Linked DNA regions of Homo sapiens: all the other regions are linked to region 3. Evidence: promoter capture Hi-C in 16 types of primary human blood cells and fetal thymus (Javierre and others, 2016). All regions are on one chromosome and are shown on one strand. The core of a region is centred on a gene start or on the middle of the fragment in contact, and the rest is flanking DNA. Distances in the headings are between cores, read along the strand shown.

Region 1 (2,885 bases), core at 369-2,868, 720 kb after region 3:
GCATTCTTATACACCAATAACAGACAAACAGAGAGCCAAATCATGAGTGAACTCTCATTCACAATTGCTTCAAAGAGAATAAAATACCTAGGTTCCAACTTACAAGGGACATGAAGGACCTCTTCAATGAGAACTACAAACCACTGCTCAATGAAATAAAAGAGGATACAAACAAATGGAAGAACATGTCATGCTCATGAGTAGGAAGAATCAATATCGTGAAAATGGCCATACTGCCCAAGGTAATTTATAGATTCAATGCCATCCCCATCAAGCTACCAATGACTTTCTTCACAGAATTGGGAAAAACTACTTTAAAGTTCATATGGAACCAAAAAAGAGCCCACATCGCCAAGTCAATCCTAAGCCAAAAGAACAAAGCTGGAGGCATCACACTACCTGACTTCAAACTATACTACAAGGCTACAGTAACCAAAACAGCATGGTACTGGTACCAAAGCAGAGATATAGATCAATGGAACAGAACAGAGCCCTCAGAAATAATGCCGCATATCTACAACTATCTGATCTTTGACAAACCTGAGAAAAACAAGCAATGGGGAAAGGATTCCCTATTTAATAAATGGTGCTGGGAAAACTGGCTAGCCATATGTAGAAAGCTGAAACTGGATCCCTTCCTGACACCTCATACAAAAATTAATTCAAGATGGATTAAAGACTTAAACGTTAGACCTAAAACCATAAAAACCCTAGAAGAAAACCTAGGCATTACCATTCAGGACATAAGCATGGGCAAGGACTTCATGTCTAAAACACCAAAAGCAATGGCAACAGAAGCCGAAATTGACAAATGGGATCTAATGAAGCTAAAGAGCTCCTGCACAGCAAAAGAAACTACCATCAGAGTGAACAGGCAACCTACAAAATGGGAGAAAATTTTTGCAACCTACTCATCTGACAAAGGGCTAATATCCAGAATCTACAATGAACTCAAACAAATTTACAAGAAAAAAAACAAACAACCCCATCAAAAAGTGGGCAAAGGACATGAACAGACACTTCTCAAAAGAAGACATTTATGCAGCCAAAAAACACATGAAAAAATGCTCATCATCACTGGCCATCAGAGAAATGCAAATCAAAACCACAATGAGATACCATCTCACACCAGTTAGAATGGCAATCATTAAAAAGTCAGGAAACAACAGGTGCTGGAGAGGATGTGGAGAAATAGCAACACTTTTACACTGTTGGTGGGACTGTAAACTAGTTCAACCATTGTGGAAGTCAGTGTGGCGATTCCTCAGGGATCCAGAACTAGAAATACCATTTGACCCAGCCATCCCATTTCTGGGTATATACCCAAAGGATTATAAATCATGCTGCTATAAAAACACATGCACAAGTATGTTTATTGCAGCACAATTCACAATAGCAAAGACTTGGAACCAATCCAAATGTCCAAGAATGATAGACTGGATTAAGAAAATGTGGCACATATACACCATGGAATACTATGCAGCCATAAAAAATGATGAGTTCATGTCCTTTGTAGGCACATGGATGAAGCTGGAAACCATCATTCTCAGCAACCTATCGCAAGGACAAAAAACCAAACACTGCATGTTCTCACTCATAGGTGGGAATTGAACAATGGGAACACATGGACACAGGTAGAGGAACATCACACACTGGGGCCTGTTGTGGGGTGGGGGGAGGGGGGAGGGATAACATTAGGAGATATACCTAATGTTAAATGACGAGTTACTGGGTGCTGCACACCAACATGGCACATGTATACATATGTAACTAACCTGCACGTTGTGCACATGTACCCTAAAACTTAAAGTATTAAAAAAAAAAGAACAGCTGCTATGTGCCCTCTGTTCACAGCAGAAACACCCTGTTAAAATAAATAAATAAATAAATAAAAAGCCAGAAGTAGGAATTTTTATGAACTCTCCGAAGTTCAGTAAAATAACAGTACTGTACCTATTCTTTCGAAGAAGCATAAAAAATGTGATTTTCTTATATATGAACTTTTATGCAACTCCTAAAAGGATTTTCTAAGAACTTGAACTGTTTTAAACCTTTTTAAATGTAAGACTTTCTCTAATATCCAATCGTTAAGTTTCATACTTTTACCTCAGAGGGATCCTAAATGGATGTGTATTACATTTCAATTTAGTAATTCCAAAGATTGAGAAGGAGACATACTCCATCTTTAGAGTAGCCTTCAAAGGCTATTAGACATATAAGAGTCCTTAAACAAAACCTGCTAAAAGTCCAACATTTGATTCATTCTCTATTTTAGGCATAAATACGATTATAATTACAATATAACCTATATTTTATACAATTAAAGAGAAAATAAACTCATTTTCACAATTTTGATTTTCTTTTAAGAGGAAGTGTCAATCATATAATTTTTTCCATACTTATATTGAAAATTTGTTTCTGAATTGCATTAGGACAGGCTAGGCTATCCTGCTGTGATAGATATCCTGAAATCTCTATGACTTAACACAACAAAAGAACCTTTCCTTTTCATAAAAGTTCCAATGCAAGAAGGATTCTGTCTAGTATGTGGTGACTCCAGGATCCAGGTGGCTTCCATCTTGAAGTGCTGCACTCTCAACACGTGGCCTCAATTACTGTGGAAGAGGCACCTTTCCTTCTACTTACAGGCCATTGACCAGAATTAGTTGCATATTCTCTGGCCTAACTATAAGGAAAGTTATGAAATACTCTTTTCTCTTGTGTTCAGGAAAAGAAAATGAAACAGGATTAGGTGAACACAAAGCATTGCTTTTGCCACAGTTTTAAGTGTAGATTCTTTGAAAGTACTTTTTCTAATACCAGTTAACCTTGGAAAAGGAGAACCAAATTAGAGTTGTTACTCATCTCTGATTCCTCCTGAACGT
Region 2 (2,845 bases), core at 334-2,833, 900 kb after region 3:
ATAATTATATTGGTATCCAGAAAGACAGTCGATTTTTTTCAACTTTTCAACAATTTTCCTTGATGTTGATTTTATGTTGATTTTATAATTTAAAGAAAACAAACAAAAATAGTAGTCAAATTAGGCTCTCCAGGTAACTTGTTTGAACTGTATGTTGTGAGGGTCTCTGATTTTTTTATGTAGTGGGGTGTAATTTTTTTTCTAATTTTAATTAGGAACTTGGATTATCAGAGTATTGGAACTTAGTGTCATTTGGAATAACAGCTGGGCATGATTGTAGTAATAAATATATAAAGAAGAGGAAAATCTAGCTTCTAAAAGAAGCCTCTATTGAATTTTGATGTTCATTTGTTATATTGTCAAATTGTAATTTCTAATTATGGGGGGGGATAAGTGGATACTGTAGCCAAGAATTACAAAATAGGGCTATGCATTGAAGTATATTCTCATATACTCTTGTCTAACTGAATTTATTATTTGAGACATTGTTGTAGAAACCATCCCAGGTTGCCCAAAATTTATGTTAATGTATTGTTTCTGAAGAGCCTTTATGCATATGTTAGTTATGCTATTTAACCAGTCAAACATTATGTGTTATTGGCAAATAGATGATGATAAACTACTATATTTGAGTTTTGTGCTTTCTGTCCTTTACCATCATCTTTTCATCTGTGTGAATAGCAGCGGATATAGGCTCATCCTTGAGGCTAAGTGCCATCTCATCTAGGTTGTTGGTTTTTTGTGTCATTTATTTAACAAGCAAAGATCTTGTACTGTTTTATTTATATATTTTGTATTAATGAAAGAATTAATATATTATCACCACCAACTCATTTGACCAATTTCTCATTATGAATTTGCAACATTTCTGACTATTAAATGCCTTCAAGCATTACATAAACAATTTCCAATTGAGCAGGTCTTCAGGAACTTTTATGTAGTACCAAACATCACTTTTAATGTTTTTTAGTTAAGTGTGTAGAGGTTTTTGTGCTATCCCTGAAAACAATCTGGTGGTTCATTTTACTGCATCTAGAAAGAATTCAGTCTCATACTATGGTTAAAAAAATAAATAAAATGCACAGAATGAGAAGCATTTCCACGAGTAATTTCACACATGCTGCTAAGTACTGCAGAGTATTGCCAAGCCTAGCCTTTAATCTCTATGGGAAGCCATACAGCTGTAAACTCTTATTTGCTGTCACATGTCTTTTGCAAGGTTATTAGAAAAGATAGGAGACCAGAAGTCCTTCCATGTTACCTTACTTTATTTTTTGACCAGGTTTTATTACATTATCCCTTTATATCTGTTGATAGCTCAACATGTGCATATTTCACCAGCCTCAGGCAAAATTATGAAGTAGGATTCATGAGGCTTTGGTGTTCTTCCCACTCTGCCTTCTGGGTCCTCGCCTGCATTCTCTCCCCGGAAGTTTCTCACTTTCTGAACCCAGCCCCTGCTCTCTGTCCAATCTACTTATTGACAATTTTAAGGGTGTATTTTCGGCCAAATGCAGACCAACGTGGTCCATTCATGGATCACCGTGTTTTGTCTCCCAGGTAAGAATCTCATGTGATAAAACTTGGGCTTGCTGAAGTGGTCTATCTCTTGGAGTGGGGATGCATACTTCTAGATCTTCAGCAGGCTCTAAATTTGCTTCAGCCTGTCTTCTTGCAAGACTCAATAGATGTGCTTTGGAGTATTACTGAATTCCTTTGCCTTGACTTCTGTCACTCTGGGCTAAAACTCAAACTGCCGTGCAGTTTCTCAGCTTTGATGTTCCCCTCCTAGTACTGGAAACCGTTCCTGAAATCCTTTAGAACTTGTAAGAAATAATAATTTCCACTGTTAACTATGTGAGGAGGGTAGGGTGAGTGGGGTAGGGGATGGTTTCAGCAGTGTGCTGAGCCTGGAGAACTGATTGTTAAATTTTCAGGAATTTTGTGAGCCAATTCCCATCACCTTGATAGCTTACAATCAGCCACAGGTGGGAGAATTTACACCACGAACTGGCAAACTAGCTGTCCCCCACCTCTAGCCAGTGTAAGAAGAGCCAAGATTGGCATGAAAAGCAGTGTTACTGCTTCCTCTCCACACCATGCTCTCAGTGTGTCTAGCTGGCCTGCATCCATATTTCTCACTCTTGGACCCCTCCTTGCTTCGCACATTAAGCATTCATTAAGAATTTATTGAATGAATGAATCAGTTTGAGACAGAGGATTTTTTTTACACAGTGTGTGCTAGTTGTTCTGATCTTTGCCAAAATGTCAAAAAGTCAAGGCCTCTTCCCTCCTTGCTCCTATTTGCCTATTTAGAAGTTCCCATGGTTAATTGCCTCCTCGCCTACGACTTCTATCGTTCTTTTATTCCTGGAACTAGAGTTCACTATCCACTGTATTGCCCCCTTGCTCACTCATATCCTATAGGATATATTCTAATAAGGTTAGGAAGAAAGAATAAAGGAATTTTAGCTTTTCAGAAAACCTGGTTTCTAGTCTCAATTCAGCCACATGATATCCTTGTGACCTCAGAGAACACACGGCCTCTCAGATCCACAGTGCCTTCATGTGTAAGTGAAAATGTTGTTACTGCTATGCTCACCTCAGGTGGGCTCCCGAGGATCAAAGGAGTTGGTGCATGTGACAGGGCTTTCTAGACTATAAAGTGCTCCACAAATGTTAGTTCTTGTTAAAAGTAGACAGACGCAATGAAGTATCATTGACTTCAGAAACAACAAGAGTTAGTTGAAATCTACCTCTATGATTGTAAGCAAAACTCACCTTTCCTGAATTTCTGTTTCTTCATCCTCAAAACAGAAATAATACCCACTAACACTCAGGGTTG
Region 3 (3,070 bases), core at 36-2,535:
CAGTCTCCAAAGTTGTATTTTGGCCTTACCTAACCAAATTTTCATTCATTTCATTCTTATTGACATTACATATACTATAACATTTGATGTTCACAGAAAATTAACTTCTATTTTAAGAAGTTTACTCACAGAACCACAGTTTGTGCATTTAACAATCACTATGAAATACATATGAAACATTAACCATCATTTTAGAGAACAATTTAAAAACTCCGAAGTAACTACTTTCCTTAACTTTGTCATCCCAACATTCTGGGTATAGGCATTGTTGGAAAAATATAATTAAAAACCAAAATCTCCCAACCCAGAAATCCTCTCCACAAACGTTAGTAGACAAAACACTTTTATTACTGAATAAGCATTAAACGAGACTGTGATACACATCACAGGCAATTTGCTAAGAGATTGCAAAGACAGAAATCTTGCCCTTTTGTATAGCCAAGTATATACGACCCATTACATACACGTTTTCAAGTTGAACAATAACTAGTCCTCAAGTAAGAGGACCTGACATTTGTGACATTAACTTTACTTAATAATTGGGGTGACCATCTGTGTTAGTTAATTGGTTTTATCCAGAGGAAAAACAAACTTCTCCTGTCTTTATGACGGAAGGTAGTTTTGCAACACGGAGCAAGTTGCTCACCGAAGTTACGCTCCTACTCTCTCACAGAAACTGGGAGATAGGGAAGGATGCTACTCCGTTGATATGTGCAGCATTTCAAAAAAAAAAAAAAAAAAAAGGTCCAGAGACATTCCTGACTGAGCATACAGTTGACAAGACCTATCTAGTCCTCAAGTGGATTTATACACATTTCAAAGAGTTGAGAAAGTACTTAACAATTAAGAAAGTACTTAAGTTTTCTAAGACAAATGCTCGGAGAGAAAGGGACGGGAAATCTCATCCTCCATTTTCAATAGGGAGAATTAAGCCTCTTATTTAAAATTTTTATGTTGGTTTTTGTTTATTTAGCTTTAAAACAGTAGACTTAAAAAAAGTCCAACTTAAGATTTATGTTTTTTTATGTGTAGGGCTGTTCTCTACGGTTAAATAAATAACCCTGCTTAGAGAAAATATTCACCACTCTTCTTTGGCTCCTATGTAACTCAGTTTTTGAGAGGGAGGGGAAATACCGGATTGACGCTATGTGGTTCAACCAATGCAAAAGATAACACCGCCTTAAAAAGTCTACTACAGGAACATGGGAGGGTCACACCCTCGAATAATGACGCATACCTATCCTACTGTTACTGATCACCTAGTAATAATCTTGTAGTTCACATTACTCATTTTTCACCAAATTCTTTTGGTGAAGGACGCTTCAGAAACGGCCATCACTGAAGAGCAGACCCGTTTGGGTTCTCCACGCATTCTAGACTCCCGAAGAGGTAAGAATTTATTATAGGGGGCCACTCCCAGGACCTGCTGTATGCTTTTAAACATCCATTACAATTCCAGCATTGAGTTTCTAACATTTTTAGGCAGGCTCAGGCACTGGGAGTACAGGATTGAAAGACAGTTCCCGTCCTTAAGGGACTCAGAGTAAACTGGAGTTGCTGAAAACCATTCTAAAGCAATCCACGTTAATAACAGATACAAGTAAAACGTGGGAACGTACAGGAAAAAGTGACCAATTCTGAGGCTGAAAAGTGCCTATTTTAGGGGTGGGGGCCTCGCGGCCCTAAAGCAGCTTCCCTTCCCGGAGATTTCAGCTCCAGGGATCGCCCAGCGCCCTCCGGGCACACTTAACATTTTAATCACGCCTCCGCCCCCACTCTCCGAATTCCTTTCCGGCTGCCGACCCGCCGAGTAGTCCCTTCCAGGCGGCCTCAGCTTATCATCGCCGGTCCGGCCACTTCCCGGCCGCGGCCAGGCGAGCCTCCCAAAGTTTCCTGTGAGGCCTTCGTCCGTCTCCGGCCCCATCTCACCACGGCAGCCCAGGACACCCGCTAGGGAGGAGCAGGTTACCGAGGCGGGGAGAGCGGCACAAACGCGCAGACCTCGGGACTCCACCCGGGCTGGTGAGCGAGCCCAGAAAGCGGCGACCGCAGCTCCGCGTCTCCACTCCCAGGGCCCGCAGCTTGGGCTAAGCGTGCGCCCACCCAGCCTAGGGCCCAAGTCCTGCCCCTTCGGGGACCGGGCCAATCGGCCGCTCCCCGCCTCCTGGGAGGTAGTGGAGGAGGGGGCTGAGGGCCGGGCGGCTGCGCCCGCCTTCCGCTCTTGCCCATTGGCTGAGGCCTCGAGGGTGCCCGGAGACCGGAGTGCAGCGGGATTGGTTGCAGAGGTTCGTGACAGTGGCGCCTATTGGCTGTGGCAGCCCCCGTGACGCGGGGTGGTGACTGGCTCCGGAGTCTGAGGGGTTCGGGCTTGTCAGGTTCTAGGTAGGTGCGTTTCGCGCCGCCGGCGGTAGGCGCTGTTGCCCGGGGCAACGCGGGGGGAGGGGGGAAGAGGAGGGAAGGCAAGCCTAGAGCGGGGGCAACAATGCCTGCCCGCAGAGGGGCGCCCGGGATTCGGCCAGGGCGTTGGGGGCTGTGCCGAGGCTCTTCCTCCGCCCTCAGCCAGCGCCCCCCCCAACCCCCGTCCCTGGCTGCAGGGTCATCCGCTCATCCTCCCGCCCGCAGCAGAGCATTCCTGGTTGGGGCTTGGGCCGGGCTACACACCCAGCCCCACGAGGGCCGCCCCTCCCACCATCCCGGGACCCGAAGGCTGAGGGGGCGGGTGCCGGCGCGAAAGGGCTGTGGCGGGCGTAGTGGCTCCGCCCCGTCGCGGGGTCTGGGGGCTGATGGGCGTGAGGCGGGGTGGTGGGGGGACTGTGGGCACCACCCAATCTTGCCTGTACCCTCACCCCTTTTCTCGGCGGCACTCATCTGGGCGCCGCCGTCCCGCTACGGGGGCATTCTCAACCCCTGGTATTCCCCCCATCCCTTCCTGCTTCTGGAGCCCCGCAGTCTCCCTTGACCCGCTCGGTCCTCCCCAGCTCTCCTCCTATCTGTCACCTTCTCCCGCTTTTATCCCCCACCTCATCTTTCTCCTCCGGTCTTGGCCAGAGGTGTCCTCCAAGAGTCTAAT
Region 4 (3,125 bases), core at 298-2,797, 730 kb after region 3:
TTTAAAATACACTCAAGATGAATTAAAAATGTAAATCTATACAACCAGGCTTTAAAAGTTTAGAGTGAAATATATATGAAAGCTTATTTAATTTTTTGGTGGGGAAGACTTTTCTGATGATAGATGGAACCTCTAAGTGTAAAGGTTGATTAAAATTTCTATAGAACATTTAAATACTAAATTAAAGTGACAGTGTAATATCTCTGGTAAAAGTTTTTTAAATGACACTACCCTATGTTAACATAAGTTAAGGGTGAATACATAAAAAACAGGCATTCTTATTTTGCTACTTGGGAATACATTTGGAATAAACTTTATCAAGGGACATTTGGCAATGCTATTGAAAGTCTTAAAATATGCATAGTCTTTGCCCCAGAAATCCACTACTCAGAATGATTATAGGGATACAACAAAGAAATAGTCACAAGATTGTTCTTCATAGCACTTCATAGAACTATTGGTAAAATATTACACATTAGGAAAATGTAAATGTCCACCAAGAGGTGAATTGGGAAACTAAGAGTGTAGTTATTAACCATACATTGTTATTAACAGTTATTATGTTGTTATTAACCCTAATGTTACAGAAAAATTGTGGAAGACATTTAAAATACTTTTTACATATTTAATTATGTAATTACTCAATTAAGTGGAAAGATATTCTCAGAATAGTGTTAGATGAAAAGCAGAGTTTCAAATCAGTATATTTTCATTTTTTACAATATTTGTTTCCTTCCTTATGCAAAATACAGAATGACGACACTCAACAGGGGTTCTATCCTGAACATGATATAGGCTGAATGTTGTTTCCTCCCCAGATTCATATGTTGAAGCCTGAACCACCAATATAACAGGGTCTTTGGGAGGTAATTAAGGTTAAAACAGGTCATATGGGTGGGACCTTCAGGATGGAAATAATGCTTCTAAGAATGCTTCAGAGAGCTTCTGGGTACACACTCACCCCACCCTCTCCCTACTCTGCCCCGTGTAAGAACACAGCAAGAAGGTGGCCACCCATAAGCCAGGAGGAAAGCCCTCATCAAGCAAATTGACTGGTGCCTTGATCTGGGACTACTAGCCTCTAGAACTGAAGAAAGTAAATGTCTGCCGCTCAAGCCACTTGGTCTACGTTATTTTGCTATGGCCTCCTGAGCAGACTAATATACATGAGGTAATGAGTAATTTCTTTTTTTGCTTATCTAGGTTTCTAAATTTTTTGTCATAAACATACTGCATTTGTAATTTTAAAAGATATTTTAAAATCAAATAATATTAGAGAAACTCTCCAGCATATACAGATGTTTCAGTGAAAAACTCATCATTAGTTAAATCAGTTATTTGAAGCTGGTTTGTGATTACCTTGACATATTTTTATTAATTCTCTCCATACACTAATTATTTGGCTTATAATTAAATTTACAAAGCAGATTGACTCCTTAGCTATGAATATCAAAGATTGATAAGGTTTCTAAATACACTACTGAAGAATAGGTTTATTTTCCTCCCATCTAACTATTTTGCAGTTATTATTTGGAAACACTGACCATTTTAATCATTATTTTTTAAATTAGAGTGAGTAATTAGCATTCTGCCTTAGGTTTGGATGACTAATAATGGTGAAATTATATATGATTTTCTTGCATTCCAAGACCTTTTATAATTAATTATCTTATCCATGCATCCTATTTCCCTCTTATGCCATCAAATTTCTGAGAAACATGCCGGGTGTGGTGGCTCACACCTGTAATCCCAACACTTTGGGAGGCCGAGGCGGGCAGGTCACTTGAGGTCAGGAGTTCGAGACCAGCCTGGCCATCATGGTGAAACCCTGTCCCTATCAAAAATAAAAAAATTAGCCTGGCATGGTGGGGTACGCCTGCAGTCCCAGCTAGTCAGGAGGCTGAGGCAGGAGAATTGCTTGAACCCAGGAGGCAGAAGTTACAGTAAGCCAAGATCATGCCACTGCACTCCAGCCTGAGCTACAGAGCAAGACCCTATCTCAAAAAAAAAATTCTAAAAAAACAATATATTCCTTTTTCTGTTGTTACAATTATATCTAACCTTATACCAGAGGAGAAGTAATGAACCTGCCACCCCATGACAGTATGTGATATTTAGTAATACACACACACACACACTTTAATTTTTATCATCTTTATAGCCCCATGCTAATGCTGGGTATATTGGAGAGGGAAGAAAGGAAGGGAGTGGGACTACATGTTTCATGAATGGCAAGGTTTCTTTGTGGCAGCAAAGGGTTTGAGCAGTCCTGGAATCTGGGAAATGTGGAGTCCTTCATCAGCATGCCAAGAAGTACTTAATGGCAGAAATTTCTCCTTAGAGACAGAAATTCACAGTCAGTGTATACAGAACACTCAAAATGACTGACCCTATAATGTTCATTCATCACTTGAGCTACTCAATGTCTTTGAACATGCATCCTACACTGTGATAATTTCATACATAATGTGTCTCACCTTCCTAAAGTGGGAGCCAGAAAATTTCCATTCCCAAACCCCTTGTATTAGGGTATAGTCATGTGACCTCACTCACTCTAATCGGACTGTCCCTGAAAGACAGATTTGAATTAAACAAGGAGCAATGAAAGTTTTATTAGGGTTGGGTTTTATTTTGTTTTGTTTTGAGGAGGAAGGGAGTGTTAGCACTGGGATGACATACTGGGAAGATGCTGGGTCTGACGTGCAGACCCTGACCCAGTGACGGATGAAAGACATACACTGACACAGATATTTTGCCTGTCAGAGCAGCTAAGGGGCTTTGCTGCCTGAGTCCACAGCTTTGGCCCCGACAAGCTGGTGAAGTTCGCATTTATTTAGTACAGATTAAATGACAAATGTCTCCAGTAAACAACACTAGAGGGTAATTAACATTGCCAACCTCCTGCGTAAAGAGCAGTCATGTGCCTGCCGATGATCAAAGGTTGGTCTTAGGACCACATGAGTAAGCAAGCTATTTAGGTAAACTCCTCTACATTCCTATGTATCTACACCCTAAGCTTTTAAGAGAATTCAGCTGCCTTCAGCCAAATCTTTTACTGAACCTATGCAAACCTCCCGGCCTTCCAAGAAGGTTTGTGTCTATTTCCTATAACTTTATCTGTACAA
Region 5 (2,893 bases), core at 126-2,625, 640 kb after region 3:
TTTTACCTATCAAAAATTAGAAACTAAGCTTTACAAATATTCAATATATGGATCAAAACCAGCCTTTTAGTAAGACCACAGGTCAGATGATCATATGTCACTTACTGGTACTCAAGGTACCCAGAGGAAAAAACAAGAAGTACTCAATGTAGAAGAACTGACTTTCCTTACCTGCTGGCTCCTTTTCAGTGTACTGTGACATATATGGCAGCGTCTGTGTGACCAGTTCAGTAGAATTATAGATGTGATTTAGTTTTTATTCACACTATGGACAAGCCGCAGAAGATTCCTACAAAGAAACAATGAATTGAACAATATATTAATAAAAGCACAAAAATAGCAAAACTGATACTTCTGCTCCTCCTAGTGAAGTCTTATAATAAAACTTAGAAAAATACAATGTGATGTAGCCAGCATGGTGGCAAATGCCTGTGATCCGCCTTAGATTACAGCACTTTGGCAGGCCAAGGCGAGCAAATCAGTTTGAGCTCAGGAATTCGAGAACAACCTGGCCAACATGGTGAAAGTCTGTCTCTGCAAGAAATACAAAAATTAGCCAGGCGTGGTGGTGCACACCTCTAGTCCCTCAGGAGGCTGTGGTGGGAGGATTGCTTGAGCCCAGGAGGTGGAGGCTGCAGTGAGCCGAGATCATGCCACTGCACTCCAGGCCTGGGTGACAAAGTGAGATCCCGTCCCAAAAATAAATAAAAACAAGAAAAATACAACACAATTTGACAAGCCAATCAAAAACTCTCAGAAATACCAAAATGGCTATGTGAAATACAGATTTACATCTGCTCTTGATAAACCTTGCCTAAGTATATATCATCCTTAAGACTGTCAATGACAACAACACATACATAATTTGTAAGTAAACAAACAAAAATATCAGAAGTACTGACTCAGGTATGTAACCAAACTATTTGGGAGTCTACTACACTGTGCTATCATTGCTTCTCTGTCAAGCAGTAAAGTTCCTTTAGCCCTGGAATTGCTAAAAGGTAACTGTAAGAATACAAACTTCATTTTTTAAAAATGTGTAATGGCTTATAACAATAATTAATGTGTGTAAATAATGATGTATTTATTCTTTGCAATAGTCAGTTGATCAGATAATTTAATCCCAAATAAGAACCTATTTTCAATCAGGAAAAACTACAATTTATCATGGAACAAATACAAAAAGAACTTCTGTTTTGAAATTAATGCATTTATTTACTATTTGAAAAGTACTATTTGAGAAGTTGCAACCTGTGGTTTTTTTGAAAGTTTGGTTAAGTTTTTATTTAAACACCTTATTTATTTAAACACTTGAGCTACTGCTAATTGCTCATCATTAATGCAATAGCTCTGCAAATGAGTTTAATTTATATGTTACCTGTCTAATCACAGACAGATATATATTAACATACGTAAGAGTACAAACCCACATTCACCCATATAATTTATAAATTCAGTAACAAGTTATGATCCTTTAAAGTATCTGAATCAAAAGAGGCTGTTAGCAACAGCTAAAGAGAAAAGGAATATAAAAATAATAATAATCTTAACATACTGGCAAAAACATAGGTGCTAATTAACAGTGTTTTAACTTTTTTTTTTTTGAGGGCGAGTCTTGCTCTGTCGCCCAGGCTGGAGTGCAGGGGCTTGATCTCGGCTCACTGCAACTTCCACCTCACGGGTTCAAGTGATTCTCCTGCCTCAGCCTCCCAGTAGCTGGGACTGTAGGCGTGTGCCACCATGCCCGGCTAATTTTTGTATTTTTAGTAGAGACAGGGTTTCACCATATTGGTCAGGCTGGTCTCAAACTCCTGACCACGTGATCCACCTGCCTTGGCCACCCAAAGTGCTGGGATTACAGGCATGAGCCACAGTGCCTGGCTGAAATGTGCGTTTTATTCTGAGATGGAAAACCATCAAAGTTCTGACCACAGAAGAGATATTTGACTTCTGTTTTAAGAAGAATGCTCTGGCTACTGTATTGAATAGCATGAAGAGGAATGAGGTCTAAAGCAGGGAGCACTGTTAAAAAGCTATCAAAATAATACTGGTAAGAGATCATAGTGGTTTGGACCAGGGTTAAAATAAAGATGGTAAGAAATGACCAGATTCTGGACATATTGTAAAAATACAATCAACAAAATTTACTAATATAGGATATGAAAGAAGGTCGAGGTTGACTCCAGGTTTTACAGGCTGGGCAATGGGAAAAATGGAGTAAATTTCAATTAATGTAGGAAAAATTGTGGAAGAGCCAGATTTGAAGAAAATATATTCAGTTCAGTTTTGGATGAGTTAAGTTTGAGATATCTATTAGACATTCAAATGGAAATATTAAATAGGAGTCTGGTGTTGACTGAAGAATTATGAGCTGTTAGTATAATTTGGGAGTTGTCAGTGTATAGATTATACCAAAACAGGTATGAACTTGGATGAGATCTCTAGGTGTACATGGAGAAGTGAAGTTAAGCCCTGAGAAAATCAAATATGAAGAGGCCAGGGAAAAAGAAGCAGAGATTGAGTATCCCTTTTCCAAAATGCTTGGAACCAGAAGTGCGGATTTGGGATTTTTTCAAATCTTTGAATATTTGCATATACATAATGAGATATCGTGGGGATGACATCCAAGTCTAAACAGAAAATTCACTTGTTTCCTACACATCTTACACACACAGTCTGAAAGTAATTTTATACAATACTTTTAATAATTGTGTGCATGAAATAAAGCTTCTGTTAAGTACTGATGTGTGGAATGTTAAAATTATGGTGCCATATTGGCAGTAAAAATGTTTCAGATTTTGGGGCCAGGTGCAGTTGCTCACACCTGTAATCCCAGCACTTTGGAAGGCCAAGGCAAGCAATCACCTGAGGTCAGTGAGACTCTGTCTCAAAA
Region 6 (3,272 bases), core at 698-3,197, 750 kb after region 3:
TTCTGTGCAAACTCAGGGAAAAAATCATTTTTCTTTTACTTCTAATTCACAATTTCTTTTAGCATTACCAGAACGCACATTTACGAGGATTGCGTAACACATGTTCTTGTCTAGTGACAAGAAAAATGTTTCACTTTCTCCCACTCAGTTATCCTTAGTGTTCATGTTAATGAACCAAGAATTGAGGGGATAGGAGAGGTTTTATGTTTATAGTGATTTTTTTTGAGAGGCTGGAAAAAAAGGTGCAAATTATATTGATATGCATGCAATGGAATTCTTATTCTGCTAGTCTCTTTTCCTTCAGATATATTTTTTCCTTGAAACCCCAACACAGTTTTTCATCATTCTCATCAAAAGTATTTTTAAAGCACATTCTGTCCGTGTCACACAACAGAGATGGACAAAGACATGTGGCCCCTGTCTTAGACATCTTCTAGAATTGAGACTATCAGTTGTCCCACTAGAAAACTTGGTTTCCTCTTCTGAGAATATAATCTTGAAATACCTCTTGTATTAAACTGATATCTAACATTTCACCACTGAAATTTCATCCTAAGATGCAATCAACACTTTAAAAAGGTAATACACTACAAATTATATTACCAAATTTATTCTAACATGGTAGCTGGCTGAAAGTCTATTTGAACAGGAAAAGCTCAGAAAAAAAAGAGACACAAGTGAATAGAAAATGGGGAGGGTATATTAAAAGGGATTTTAGAACTAATAAGACTCAAGGTTATATTTTGGCCCTTCCATTTATTAATTGGTTAACTTTGGATACATGACTTCCTCCTTTTTAGCTCAGTTTCTTCATCTGTTAAAGTGGGAATAGTAAGCTTACCTCCCTGGAATGCTGTCGGATTTAAAGGAGCTGAGAAATGTGAAAACTGAACTGAAGTAGGTGCTGAAGGATCCCTAATTTTTTTGTAACTGAAGACAAACTTTGTCCCCTCTACAATTTTGACTGTAGGGCCAAGTTTTACTAACTGAGAGACCTCAACACCTATCCACAGATGTTTAAACAAAGTGCAGGATACATCTTTCCAGCCCCATCTCTTTACACGTTTCACCTTGCAGACTGAACTCTTGATGTGCAGCCTGCCATGGCTCTGCCTGTTCAGAAGGCAAGGAATATCACTGCTGTCTCCTTTTCACCAAAGTATGAGCTCGGTTTCTTCCAACAGCACCCTTGGTTGGCTTGATCTAGGGTATAGTCAAGAGGGATGGAGGGAAGAAGGTGGCAGTGACAGAAGAAAGGCTTTGTGCGACACAGCTCTGAGGTAGGTGTCCCAGGTAGATTGCTAGCGATGACCTCAATTGGAGAGGTCAAAGTAAAACTCCAGGGCTTTCCAGAGCCTGAACAGATTTATGAGGCCCAAAGCCCTATTGCCGTTGTTTCTAAGAGAAATAGCTCATCTGTAACAGCTGTGTCTGACTTCTAACCACCTCTTCACTGACCTGGAAAAGTATGGCTCTGGCTTCTGTTTGTCCTGCTGTGGTGCAAACGCCCACAAATACACATCGTAGTGTTGAAAGTCCTGGATAGCACTCTTAGGCAGCAGTTAAAGGAGGCTTGTCTTGCAAGCCACTTTTGGAATTCGATCGTGCTCCTTTTTTGTTATTGTTGTTAGAAGACAAAAACACAACAAAAAAGCAATACTTATTTTTCTCCTAGACCTTTTCATTGAGATTTGCTTTACTCATCTTCATCTATGTTTATATGTGTACTTCAATTTTGTCTCATTGTTTAAAACAACATTTACCAGAATGTGCTTCTGTCATTATCTACATGTTCTATTCTTTGGGGATTTCTTTTTATGAGTATCATCTCTGAATAATCAGGAAAAAATCCCACCAATTTGAAGATGCCACCTAGGAAACAGGTAAGCCCCATGTATCTTCCATTTGTTTTCTATAGTAATTGTTTTCTGTGCTTATGAGTAAGAATTTATTGATGTTTCAAAGCCGGTTGGCAATATACACAATCAGTTTGTTATTTTACAGTCATATTAATTTGACTCAAACAGCAGCACCCAGTTTGATCCTGACCTTATTCACCAGGTATTAATATAAAATTATCTTTTCTTGATATTTTGGGGAATACAAACCATGAATTTTTAGGATGTGGTCTCTGAGTTCTAGAAGTTTATACTCTAGTGGTGTAAGTAGGGTATCTAATGAGGAATTGAATTATTTTCAAAAATCAAGATTTGTTCAGTTTGAGGGTATTCAAAAGTATAAGTTTGACTTTTTTAGATTCTATGATCATAGTTAATAGTAATGTATATTTCAAAATTGCTAAAAGAGATTTTAAAAGTTCTCACCACAAAAAAGTAGAGAAGGTGATAGATATGTTAATGAATTTGATTTAATCATTCCACAATGTATACATATATCAAAACATCACGTTGTGTCTCATAAATGTGTACAATTATTTGTTCATTTTAAAAAGTATTAAATGCAGGCTGTGGATGAATGTGTCAACTGGAGACATATTTTGGTAGTTAAATATCAAGAGTTTTAAAAAATATACATTCTCTTTTTTCCAGAAATTCTACGAGTGGGAATTTTTTCCATCAAAATAAACAGATATGTGCAAAAATTTATGTACAAGTTTACTCAGCTACTGTGTTATTTATAAAAGCAAACCATGGAAAGTATTGAGATATAACCGGCAATAAATTATCATATATCTTGAACATTGTGAAGCCATTGAAATGGTAGTAAGAATAACATTTAATGATAAGGAGAAGTATTTATATTAATTGAAAAATCAGGTTATAGAATATTTATAGTATATTTACAAATTTGTAAAACATATGTGCATATAAAGGTAAATGAGATAAAGTTTATACCTAAACATTTTAATAATTATTTTTGTGTGGTGGAATCAACATTAATTCTGTATGTGTTTCTGTATTTTCCAAAGTTTTTAATAATAAGTGTGTATATTTTATAATTCAAAAAGTCACAAATTGTTAAAAAATGGTTGGGCTTTTGAAGTATATTACAACATAGAAATTTCAAAAATGCTTTACCATGTTTAGATTATTACGTATTAAGCTTCATAGGATGATTATTGAAACTTTCTATGTTTTGTCATTCTCCAAATAGGTTTTTCTATACAAATTTATTTTATCCTTTTATTTACATTTAGGGGACATTTTCCCAAAGAAGATAGCAATCCAAATAATCTATAAGGAACCATCGGTGTACTTACTCTCTACAAAGCTCTCTGCTGCCAGCTGTGAAGAATATGAGACGGATGAGAA
Region 7 (2,870 bases), core at 366-2,865, 620 kb after region 3:
TTATCTATGCTGTTTTCTCCTTCTGTAGGAGAAACGTAAGAAAAATCCAACCCTGACTACTTGAATTTTGAAACAATGCTCTTGAGTACTTTCCCTTCACAGTTTAAATCTGAATTCCTCAACCTGGCCTTCAAATCCCTACATAACACATGCTTTCTGCTCAGCCCACTTCTCCAACAGCATCTCTCATCACTCTTCCCCAGCTACTATGCTCCTACTGTTCTTCCTACTTTTGAAACACATGGAGATCATTTCTACCTTGGGGCCACTTCCTCTACCTAAAATGTTCTTGCACTGAATTTTTACTTTGCTACTTTCTTCTTGATGTTCATGTCAGATTCATAAGTCACCATCTCAGGGAGGCCTGTCTTGAACATTCAGTTTAAATAGCTCTCCAGTTACTGACTACCACATAACTCTGCTTATTTAAACTATAAAATTTATTTTTGTTTAACATTTTCTTATTTGTTTACTGTCAGTCTACTCCTACTAGAAACTAACTAAACAGGAACAGAGACACACAAATCAATGGTACAGATCAAGAAAATAAGGAGGAGATAAAGGAAGCATTTCAAAACAGGAAGAAAAAAAAGGACTCATTAGGCTAGGTGCAGTGGCTCACCCCTATAATCCCAGCACTTTGGGAGTCCGAGTCAGGCAGATCACTTGAGGCCAGGAGTTTGAGACCAGCCTGGACAACATAGTGAAACGCTGTCTCTACTAAAACTACAAAAAATTAGCTGGGTGCATGCCTAATTCCATCTACTCAGGAAGCTGAGGCATGAGAATCGCTTGAACTCAGGAGGCAGAGGTTGCAGTGAGCTGAGATCACACCACTGCACTCCAGCCTGGGCAACAAAGCGAGACTGTGTCTCAAAAAACAAAAACAAAAAAGGACTCATCAACAAAATGTACTGGGACAACTGGGTATTCGCCCGCAGGGAGGGAGGTTAAATCCCTTAAATAAACTTTAGCTATACTTTTTTGAAGTACATGTGTATATGCACCCCCCACCTCACTTAAACAATGAGTACGAGAATAGTCATGAGGAAATTTTATAAAAATTTCAGTGTCGGCCGGGCGCGGTGGCTCACGCCTGTAATCCCAGCACTTTGGGAGGCCGAGGCGGGCGGATCACGAGGTCAGGAGATCGAGACCATCCCGGCTAAAACGGTGAAACCCCGTCTCTACTAAAAATACAAAAAATTAGCCGGGCGTAGTGGCGGGCGCCTGTAGTCCCAGCTACTTGGGAGGCTGAGGCAGGAGAATGGCGTGAACCCGGGAGGCGGAGCTTGCAGTGAGCCGAGATCCCGCCACTGCACTCCAGCCTGGGCGACAGAGCGAGACTCTGTCTCAAAAAAAAAAAAAAAAAAATTTCAGTGTCATTCTAAGCATGATATAAAACCCTGAAGTCACAAAATTTGGACACAAAACTCAAACTGAGAAACGTGAACTACAATACAAGAGAGACAAAGGGCTTTTCCTTAATCAATAGAAGCTTAAAATGTAAAAAAAAAACTGTAAGAAAAACATCAATATATATCAACAGAAAGGAGGCAAAGGATATAATAATTAGCAGAAAAGGAAATTCAAATAGCCCTTAAATATATAAAGAGATGCTCTGCCTCATTTATAATAAGCAAAATGCAAATTAAAACAACTGAAATATGTTTCAACTATTAGCAAAAATAAAAAATTCTGATAATACCCTGTGTGTTGGTGAAGCTCTGAAGAAAGCTTTGAAGAAAGGCAATTCATATAGTGTTGGTAAGAAAGTGACTAATTTAAGTTCTTTGTAGAGAAACCCGGCAAAAGCTATAGATTAGGTTTATGCACACTCACTGACCTAGTGGTTCGGCTTCCAGTTATTTCTCCTAAACATGTACAATGTGTTTTTTATTTTTTCTTCAGCATTACTCACAATAGCCAAAACTGTCCACCAAATGAAACTGGTATACTCATGTAGTAGTATACAGTAAGTTCTGACTTAACTTTATACGAGCTTCTTAGAATATGTGACTTTAAGCAAAACAAGGTAGAACTATGCAGACTTAAAATGAATAAAGGAAATCTATATGAATATGGAACAATCTAAAAAACAGATCTATAAACAAAACAAATAACGAAACCAAGGTGTACACATATGTCTACACAATGTGCTACCGGTTGCATAAAAAATGAAATGGAACGTGTACACATATATGCTTTTATGTGTACGGAAGATCTTTAGAAGTTCAAAAAGGAAGCTGGTTATAATGGTTTTTAATTGGTCTTTCCATACTGTCTAAACTCACTTTTTATTGTTGTATGAATCCTTTTTTTTTTAAAACAACTGTAATTTCATCTGTTTATCAAGAGAAGTTCAACCAGAAATAGCTACCCAAGCAATAAACTGTTAGCAATTCATTAAATATTTCCAAAGCACTCAAACTTGTGTCATTAAATCTGTATTCACTCTTACTGGTATTTCAGAAACCATCCCTTTAATTATGCAAAGTACAATAGTGAAAAGAATTTTTTTAGTTTCATGAGTCATGTGACCAATTATTAAGGAGTCACACAGTTGTTTGTATATTTAGCCTAAAGATAGCTAAAACTAACAGATGTTTAGCAGATGCTTAACAAATTTTAAAACCTTGAAGGTTTTCTCAATTTCAACCAAAGTACAGGTTATTTTCTCCCTTTGGTCAAAGCTCTATTGGTGTCTATCTAGACAACTCAAGCTTTTGAAAATGTACTAATTTATTCCCATTTTTTATTCTTCTTTCTGTTCCATCCCAGATATTAGAACTTTTTTTGGGCTAGATTTAATTAGGTTGTCATAATTATGCAATTGACATTTGGTGTACTACATCATTCTGAATGAAATA

The links. Contacts are between HindIII fragments. The CHiCAGO score rates a contact against its expected background, and 5 or more counts as called.
Region 1: a contact is called between a fragment that was not itself captured here and the fragment with the promoter of FER in region 3, in 3 of 17 cell types (monocytes, total B cells and naive B cells). The highest score is 7.6, in monocytes.
Region 2: a contact is called between a fragment that was not itself captured here and the fragment with the promoter of FER in region 3, in 1 of 17 cell types (monocytes). The highest score is 5.2, in monocytes.
Region 4: a fragment that was not itself captured here is called in contact with the fragment with the promoter of FER in region 3 in 3 of 17 cell types (endothelial precursors, monocytes and erythroblasts); the score reaches 6.6 in endothelial precursors.
Region 5: a fragment that was not itself captured here is called in contact with the fragment with the promoter of FER in region 3 in 8 of 17 cell types (naive CD8 T cells, total CD4 T cells, total CD8 T cells and 5 more); the score reaches 7.2 in naive CD8 T cells.
Region 6: a contact is called between a fragment that was not itself captured here and the fragment with the promoter of FER in region 3, in 1 of 17 cell types (monocytes). The highest score is 6.0, in monocytes.
Region 7: a contact is called between a fragment that was not itself captured here and the fragment with the promoter of FER in region 3, in 1 of 17 cell types (total CD8 T cells). The highest score is 5.4, in total CD8 T cells.

What each region holds. Positions count from the first base shown.
Region 1 is chr5:109,461,567-109,464,451 of GRCh38, forward strand. The region is part of intron 2 of LOC105379117 (a long non-coding RNA gene); the gene reads left to right. Among named protein-coding and RNA genes, the nearest start is that of PJA2, 53 kb to the left of the region's middle. The HindIII fragment of the contact is 4,316 bases long and covers 1-2,885 here.
Region 2 is chr5:109,651,155-109,653,999 of GRCh38, forward strand. No RefSeq gene overlaps it. Among named protein-coding and RNA genes, the nearest start is that of MAN2A1, 37 kb to the right of the region's middle. The HindIII fragment of the contact is 6,499 bases long and covers 1-2,845 here.
Region 3 is chr5:108,746,612-108,749,681 of GRCh38, forward strand. It overlaps FER (FER tyrosine kinase), which reads left to right and starts at 1,286. Exons shown (of 20, transcript NM_005246.4): 1 at 1,286-1,389. RefSeq lists silencers at 2,053-2,152, 2,233-2,292, 2,423-2,832. The HindIII fragment of the contact is 11,506 bases long and covers 1-3,070 here.
Region 4 is chr5:109,480,021-109,483,145 of GRCh38, forward strand. All of the region lies in intron 4 of LOC105379117 (a long non-coding RNA gene), which reads left to right. Among named protein-coding and RNA genes, the nearest start is that of PJA2, 72 kb to the left of the region's middle. The HindIII fragment of the contact is 2,934 bases long and covers 81-3,014 here.
Region 5 is chr5:109,383,232-109,386,124 of GRCh38, forward strand. It overlaps PJA2 (praja ring finger ubiquitin ligase 2), which reads right to left. Exons shown (of 10, transcript NM_014819.5): 2 at 172-289. The coding sequence starts at 202. Among named protein-coding and RNA genes, the nearest start is that of PJA2, 25 kb to the right of the region's middle. The HindIII fragment of the contact is 2,699 bases long and covers 27-2,725 here.
Region 6 is chr5:109,496,218-109,499,489 of GRCh38, forward strand. All of the region lies in intron 4 of LOC105379117 (a long non-coding RNA gene), which reads left to right. Among named protein-coding and RNA genes, the nearest start is that of PJA2, 88 kb to the left of the region's middle. The HindIII fragment of the contact is 2,227 bases long and covers 835-3,061 here.
Region 7 is chr5:109,363,268-109,366,137 of GRCh38, forward strand. All of the region lies in intron 5 of PJA2 (praja ring finger ubiquitin ligase 2), which reads right to left. Among named protein-coding and RNA genes, the nearest start is that of PJA2, 45 kb to the right of the region's middle. The HindIII fragment of the contact is 239 bases long and covers 1,497-1,735 here.